2 separate regions of the Homo sapiens genome follow, and region 1 is linked to region 2. The links are contacts of gene promoters, found by promoter capture Hi-C in human tissues and cell types (Jung and others, 2019). All regions are on one chromosome and are shown on one strand. The core of a region is centred on a gene start or on the middle of the fragment in contact, and the rest is flanking DNA. Distances in the headings are between cores, read along the strand shown.

Evidence for each region. Contacts are between HindIII fragments. The study calls those that stand out against the background at their distance.
Region 1: a contact is called between a fragment that was not itself captured here and the fragment with the promoter of CCL13 in region 2, in 1 of the 25 tissues and cell types used here (spleen).

What each region holds. Positions count from the first base shown.
Region 1 is chr17:34,387,665-34,391,159 of GRCh38, reverse strand. No RefSeq gene overlaps it. Among named protein-coding and RNA genes, the nearest start is that of CCL1, 26 kb to the right of the region's middle. The HindIII fragment of the contact is 4,930 bases long and covers 1-3,495 here.
Region 2 is chr17:34,353,872-34,357,808 of GRCh38, reverse strand. It overlaps CCL13 (C-C motif chemokine ligand 13), which reads right to left and starts at 1,329. Exons shown (of 3, transcript NM_005408.3): 1 at 1,207-1,329; 2 at 220-334. The coding sequence starts at 1,282. The HindIII fragment of the contact is 2,821 bases long and covers 1-2,256 here.

The DNA.
Region 1 (3,495 bases), core at 582-3,081, 33 kb before region 2:
TTCCTTAGATCTTTCTTCTCTGCTAAATTCTCTGAAGACAGATTCTCAGTCTTCATGTTATAACCTTGCCCAGCTTCTAGAACAGGGCCTTGGGCGTAATGAGTGAGTGCTCAGGAAACATGTCAGATAGGTGATCTGTGGATACAGTCATGTTGGGGCTCAAGATGAAAAGGAGACTGAAATCTGCAGGAAGGTCTACAATGAAGAACATCACCAAGCAAGGTCCACCTACCTTGGCATGGCTGGTCTGAAGCACTGGTCTCCCATGGTAACCAGGCGGATCCACTGGGGCCCTGGTGGAAAGGAAAGAGCGTGGACATGAAGTCAGACGGGCCTTGATGACCCTTACCAGCTAGGTGGCTTTTGGCACTTTGACAAACTTCCTTGAGCCTGAGTGCTTTCTTTTAAGAATATACCATGCCTGTCCTTCAGGACTGCTGAGGCACCTCAATGAAGAGACTCACGTCAAGTTCCTATTGTAACCCCTGGCAGACAGCAGGGGCTTGGTGAAAGCCCATCACCCTTCGTCCCTCCATCCCAAAGCATTCTTGCAATATCCTGTCAGGGAAAGCAGAGAGACTTCAAGGGTAAAGACCAGTGGCTGCTTGTTTTCTTCAGGGGAGGATTAGGTCACGAGTGATCTTTGCAATGAACTCTCCTGATGCAGCATTGGGTTCCACACCTTCAACTGTCTCCTTTTTGGGTTCATGATCTCCCACCTCTGTACAGCAGCAGACAAAAGAAGCTACATGAAGGCAGCCTGGGCTCAAGATCATAGATATGAATGCATCCTGTATCACTAGACCTCCTCCTGCTAGATCACCTCCCTAAGTATTTGTCATCAGCGTGTGGGGTCAAATTGAGGAGCCACTTCCAGGGAGAGGTGATATCAGGAGTAAGTGGATCACAGGCCTAGACTTCTTCACTGGCAGCCTGCACAGAAACCACAGTCCTGGACCAAGACCGAGGAGTGAGCCCAGCCACAGGCAGCCACTGGGAATGGAGTAGGAACCAGGGAAGGGATTTTGGAGGGGTGAATGAATCATTATTTATCAGTTACGTTATGTCAGGCTCCAACGTGTGGATGAAGTCTGACAACCCTTGGGCCTGACATTAATCCTGCTGTTTATCAGCTGTTTGTCATAGGAAAATCACTTAACTTCTCTGAGTCTGTCTCCTTCTCTGTAAATGGATATGAAAACATTCATTGGATAGAGTTGTCGTGAAAGTTTAATGAAATTGCATGCACCCCAGCATGTAACAGTAGTTACTATTCTTACAGCTGTATTTTCTCCTCCCAACTACTCAGTAAGGTAGATATCACCTTTCCATCTCAGAGATGAGAAAATGAAAGCTCAAGAAGGTGAGGTCTTGCTTATAGCCATACAGCTAGGAAAGACACAAATGGTCTATTATCCCAAATCTTTCATGCCCTCCAATTCCATTCTGGTTTCACGCAGACCAGATGGAAGCTGGGAGAGAGCAGGGGGCTGAGGAACCGCCACCCACACCCACTTTGCCCTACAGCAGCTCTGCCTCCCCATGTATGCTGCTGAGGTGGAGGCAAAGTTTTACCCACAAGGGTTTCCCTTCCCAGCCTTGTTGCTAATTTTCGTCTCTGTGGTTTGGTCCTCCTCTGTCACACCTTCCTGTGATGTGCCCTTACCCCCACCCCTCAGCCAGGGAGATACTGTTGAATGCCCCACTGGGTGGTTATTTATGTGATCTTCCATCTCTTTCCTTCTGAGTGGTTTATTCCTCCTCGTTCTCATCCTGCCCACACAGGAGCTTGGCGAGAATCACTGTCTCCTAGTGTGGACAACAAAAAGAGAAGGAACAAAGTGGGTGAGCAGCTTTCCCCAGGATTACATGGCAAGAAAGTCCCTGTGGCCAGTCAGCTCCCTAGTGGCTGCCTTGAGCAGAGGGTGACAAAGAAAAGGACAGAGACCCCAGCCTGATAGCCTCCCCATTTACCTTTGCTCCATGCATATCAGGCTCACTCCCCGGGGCTGGGGAAATGTCTACCTTGACTTTGCGGTAGAGGTTTGGATCTTTCTGGGTATCTGCATCTTCTCCCATGCTCCTTCCCCTCTCCCTGTCACTGGCCACCAGTGGATCAGTCCCTGCCACCACGGGGAAAGGCCAGTCCGTGCCTCCTGGTCTCTGCTCCCCCCGATCCCTGCTAGGTGCTGTCATCTCCACGATGTCCCTCCACCATGATCCTGTGCAGTCAGGAGAGTCATTATCCTTATTTTGTTTTATTTTATTTATGTATTTATTTGTGAGATGGAGTCTCCCTCTTGCCCAGGCTGGAGTGTAGTGGTGCAATCTTGACTCACTGCAACCTCTGCCTCTTGGGTTCAAGCGATTCTCGTACCGCAGGCTCCCGAGTAGCTGGGATTACAGGTGTGCACCACGCCTGGCTAATTTTTGTATTTTTTGTAGAGACAGGGTTTCTCCATGTTGGCCAGGCTGGTCTCAAACTCCTGGCCTCAACTGATGCCTCCGCTTTGGTCTCCCAAAGTGCCGGGATTACAGGCATGAGCCCGGCCCGTCCTTATTTTATTTTATTTTATTTTATTTTGAGACAGGATCTTGCTGTGATACCAGGCTTCAGTGCAATGGTGTGATTCTAGCTCACTCCAGCCTTGAATTCTCGGGCTCAAGTGATTCTCCTGCCTCAGTCTCCTGAGTAGCTAGGACTACAGGCATGTGCCACTACACTCAGCTAATTTTTAAATTTTTTTGTAGAGATAGAGTCTTGCTTGTTGCCCAGGCTGATCTCAAACTCTTGGCCTCAAGCAATCCTGCTGCCTCAGCCTTCCAAAGCTTTAGGAATACCGGTATTATTCCCAGCCATTATCTTCACTGCAGAGATGAGGACACTGAGGTTTGGAGGAGTCTAGTGACTCATCCAAGATCACAGCCCTAGGAAGGTGTTGACCTGGGCTCCCATTCAGGTCTCTGAACTCCAAGCCCAGTGCCCTCTCCACTACCACCAATGTGGGCTGGGAACGGCATGTTTTCTTCTGTTCTCCTGAGGCATGGCTTTTCTTGAGATGAATACAAGCTCCACAGGTGGCACAAACTGAGTGCCAGCTCTGAGCCAGGCTCAGCTCTAGCTCCTTCAATCCTCTCAACACCATATGCTGTAGGTGATGGTTTATAGCCATGGAAACTGAGCCCCAAAGAGACGAGTTGGTTGCCCAAGGTCACACATAATTGATGGAAGTGGCTACTGGCAACCCCAGTGCCGCAGCATGATGCTTTACCTGCCTGAAAGGAAAAGCGTGGAGCTAAGCATGCCATTAGTCTGTGTTTAAATCCCCACTCTGGCCTGTATCTAGCGACAGGCTTCTCAGCTGTGCCTGGGGGGTGCTACCCCCTGCACTGTTGGGTTCTTGGAGGCAAGAGAGATAGCAGGAGGTAAAGCTTATTGCAGCCTGGTCCTGGGCACAGAGTAGGGGCTTAGTCCAGCTAAATGTCCCTCTTCTC
Region 2 (3,937 bases), core at 80-2,579:
GTGTGGGCTGGTGCCCATCCAGGAAACAAGGTGTGGGAAATTATAGGTCCTCTTTGGACCTGTTGTGCAGCCAAAATTGGAGGATTTGCATCACACAGTCTGGCTAGATCTCATCCTAAGATCTCAAGTCAGTCTGACGTCTGTCTCCTGGGGCAGAACTTTGGATTGGGGAATGTGGGAGTGGGGAGGAGCCAGGTGAGCAGGGATTTTTCTACCCACATGACAGCCTTCTGGGGACACCTGCTGGTGGTGATCACATAGCTCTTCAGCCTCTGCAAGGAGATCTTCTTACTGCTAAATGTGAAGCAGCAAGTAGATGGGACGTTGAGTGCATCTAGAAATAGTTACAAAGAAAAAGACTTTGAGGATGTGTTAGGCTTTTCTCAGCTTGAATACAGCAGGGAGCATCTGTATGGGATGCAAAGCAAAGAGGAAGAAATAGATCTTACTCACCCCCAAGCCCAGCACTCCCACCCTAGACCCTGAGGTGAGGTGGGACCTGTGACATGTGCCTCAGGATCTCAAAGGCTCAGCTGCATGGTGGAGACATGTCACAGCCATCTAGGGGAGGCCACGGGCAAGGCCAGTGGGAAAGGTCCTGGGTGTGGTCCCAGATCTGCAGAGTTTGGGACGATCAGATGAGGTCAAAGAAAAGGCCCTAAATCTGGAGTCAGAAGCTTAGGTTTCATTCTTGCTCTGCAATAACCTGGAGGTGGATGGCTAGGGTCCCTTCTGCCTCCAACATGGGCTTCAGCTTTCTATCTTTAAAATTAGATGTTAAAGTGAACCTCTGAGGAGCCTTACTATTCTGGTGGGCTTAGAAGTGGGGCACTTGGCTGGGCCTGGTGGCTCACGCCTGTAATCCCAGCACTTTGGGAGGCCGAGACGGGAGGATCACTTGAGGTCAAGAGTTTGAGACCAGCCTGGCCAACATAGTGAAACCCCTTCTCTACTAAAAATACAAAAATTAGCTGCACGTGATGGCGGGTGCCTGTAATCACAGCTACTCAGAAGGCTGAGGCAAGAGAATCGCTTGAACCTGGGAGGTGAAGGTTGCAATGAGCCAAGATCGCACCCCTGCACTTCAGCCTGGGCAACATAATGAGACTCAATCTAAAAAAAAAGTGGAGGAGCACTCGGGCTTAGGTCTTCCTTGAATAGAGAAACAGAGGGAAAGAGAGGGAGAGTCGAAGGGAGGTGACTTACCTGGCTGAGCAAGTCCCTGGGGGTTGAAAGCTGCTGTCATGAGCAGCAGGCACAGAAGCACTGCAGAGACTTTCATGTTGAAGGTTAAGAGTTGGAGATTTCACAATGTTTCTTTGCCTCTCTGCTCCTCTGGCTGTTCCGCCGGCCTTTTATAGGGAGTGGAGAAGCTTGGAACTCTCAGAGGACCTTGGCCTGAGCAGGGCGTTGACCAAGTCATGATGAAGGGGGATCCTGAATCTGCTGAGCTGGAGCTGGGCACCAAAGACTTTTCTAGGAAATGCAAGAGGGAAGCTGAGGGCTGAAACAGCATGGCATGGCTTCCTTCTGGCTGTTCAGGCCACAAGGAGCCAGAGAGGAGAAAGGGACACAGACGCGCCCCAGCCATTCACCATGGGAAGCCATAAAGGAGCTGTTTTCTTCTTACTTTCTCCAACAGGAAAGAGAAAAACAATGAAAATTAACTCCTGTAGAGAAAGAGTGCTGTGCTAAGGACTCTGTTCACGTTATATATTTAGTTTGAGGAGGTACATACCATTATTATCATGCCCATTTCATAGAAGAGGAAACGGATGCAGAGAGATTAAATAACTTGACCAAAATCTTATGGGAAATGAGAGGGAAAGCTAGAAGAGAAAGCTGGTCTGCTTATATTTTATCACCAAGGCAGTTTCAACTTTTGTTTAGCAGCAGAAGTCTTTTTCCAAGTCAACTTTTATGTGGAAGTCTAATATCTGAAACAGATTAAGTCAGATTTCTGATGACAGGGGCTCCTTACATTACATATTGTGTCCCCTTCTGCCCCTCAGGCCCAGAGGGACATGGTTCAAACACCTCTGATTGATGCAGGCCCCGTGTTTCCAGGAAGGACCATTGGGTTTCTAGAGCTGTTGATGGGAGGGCTGGGGTGGCCCTCAGAGCAAAGAAGTGAGGTGTTTGGCCCATTCCTGGGCTCCTCCTGCGAGGGGCACATATCTGGGAGCTGGGAGGTGGGGAGGGAATGGCTTAAAATGGTTGAACATGTCCCTTTCCCACTCATCCCTAGCTCCAAGACTTGGCACAGTTTTTGTGCCTTCCTGGAATACTCATCCCTCTGCATTCCACTATAGCAAAATAAGCCCAGTGAAAGTAAAGGGAAGAAATAAAGAGCTAGGATTAGAGAAATAGGAAACAGTAAATATTAGAAAGGATAGATGAAGCCCAAAGCTGGTTCTGTAGCCTATAATTAAGCTAAAACTCTCCTGAACTGAAAATGAAAAAAAAAAGAAAAAAGGGGCTGAGGCGGGGGGATCACTTGAGGTCAAGAGTTCTAGAGCAGCCTGGACAACATGGTAAAACCCTGTCTTTACTAAAAAAAATACAAAAATTACCCAGGCATGGTGGCACATGCCTGTAATCCCAGCTACTTGGGAGGCTGAGGCAGGAGAATTGCTTGAACCTGGGAGGCCGAGGTTACAGTGAGCCAAGATTGCACCACTGCACCCCAGTCTGAGTGACAGAGTAGGACTCTGTCCCAGAAAAAAAAAAAAAGAAAAGAAAAAAGGAAAAAGGTACATATAACCAGTTGCAGAGCCTGCAGACACCAAAAAGAAAATGATAAGAACCTTATGCCAAAAATTTAGTTTAGAGGAAATGGATGAATTTCTTAAAAATCTAACTGACCAGGGTGCACAAATAAATAAAAAATAGAAAGTCATTCTAAAGCTATTAAAGAAATGGAATCAGGAATTGAAAATCTTCCCACAAAACATTCTCTGGGCTCAAAGGGCACAAACAGCTAATTCCTCCAAGCACTGAAGGAAGTGGTCATTTCAATCTTGTGCAATCTCTTCCAGAGAATATCAAAAGATTGTACACCACTCAATTCATTTTGAGACCTACCTAACTTTGACACAAAAATGTGTCAAGACTCACCTGAGAAAAGGATATTATAAGCTTGTCCCTTCAGACACACATTCCATTCTTTTCCATTCTATTCTCTGCCCTAGGAAGCCAATCTTGGTGGGTTACATCAGTGAGGTTGCTGACCTTCTAGCTTCTGACTGGGTTTAGGCACAAGGGAGCTTCTGAGGACATTAGAGCAGGGAGAAGAGTTAAGTTGAGGTTCTTCTCCTCTGTTGTCTCCCTGTGTTCCTCAACCTGGATACATCCCTCAACTAATGGTTTTAACTTCTTTCAAGGTGGTTTCTCCATGACTCTCCTATCCAGGTTTGCTGAGCTATCCCCTGTTTTTCCTTTTTAGATTTAGGAATATAACCATGTTCTTTTTAAAAAATTTTTATTTTATTTTAAATTTTGGGATACATGCGCAGGATGTGCAGGTCTGTTACATAGGTAAACATGTGCCATGGTGGTTTGCTGCACCTATCAACCCCTCACCCAAGTATTAAGCTCCATCCACATTAGCTATTTATCCTGACGCTCTCCCTTTCCCTCACTCCCTGAGAGGCCGCAGTGGAATAGCCAAGACAATCTTAAACAAAAAGAACACAGCTGGAGGTATCATGCTACCTGACTTCAAACTATACTACAAGGCTACAGTAACCAAAACAGTATGGTACTGGTACAAAAACAGACACACAGACCAATGGAACAGAATAGAGATCTCAGAAATAAGACTACACATCTACAACCATCTGATCTTTGACAAACCTGACAAAAATAAGCAATGGAGAAAGGATTCCCTATTTAATAAGTGGTGCTGGGAAAACTGGCTAGCCGTATGCAGAACACT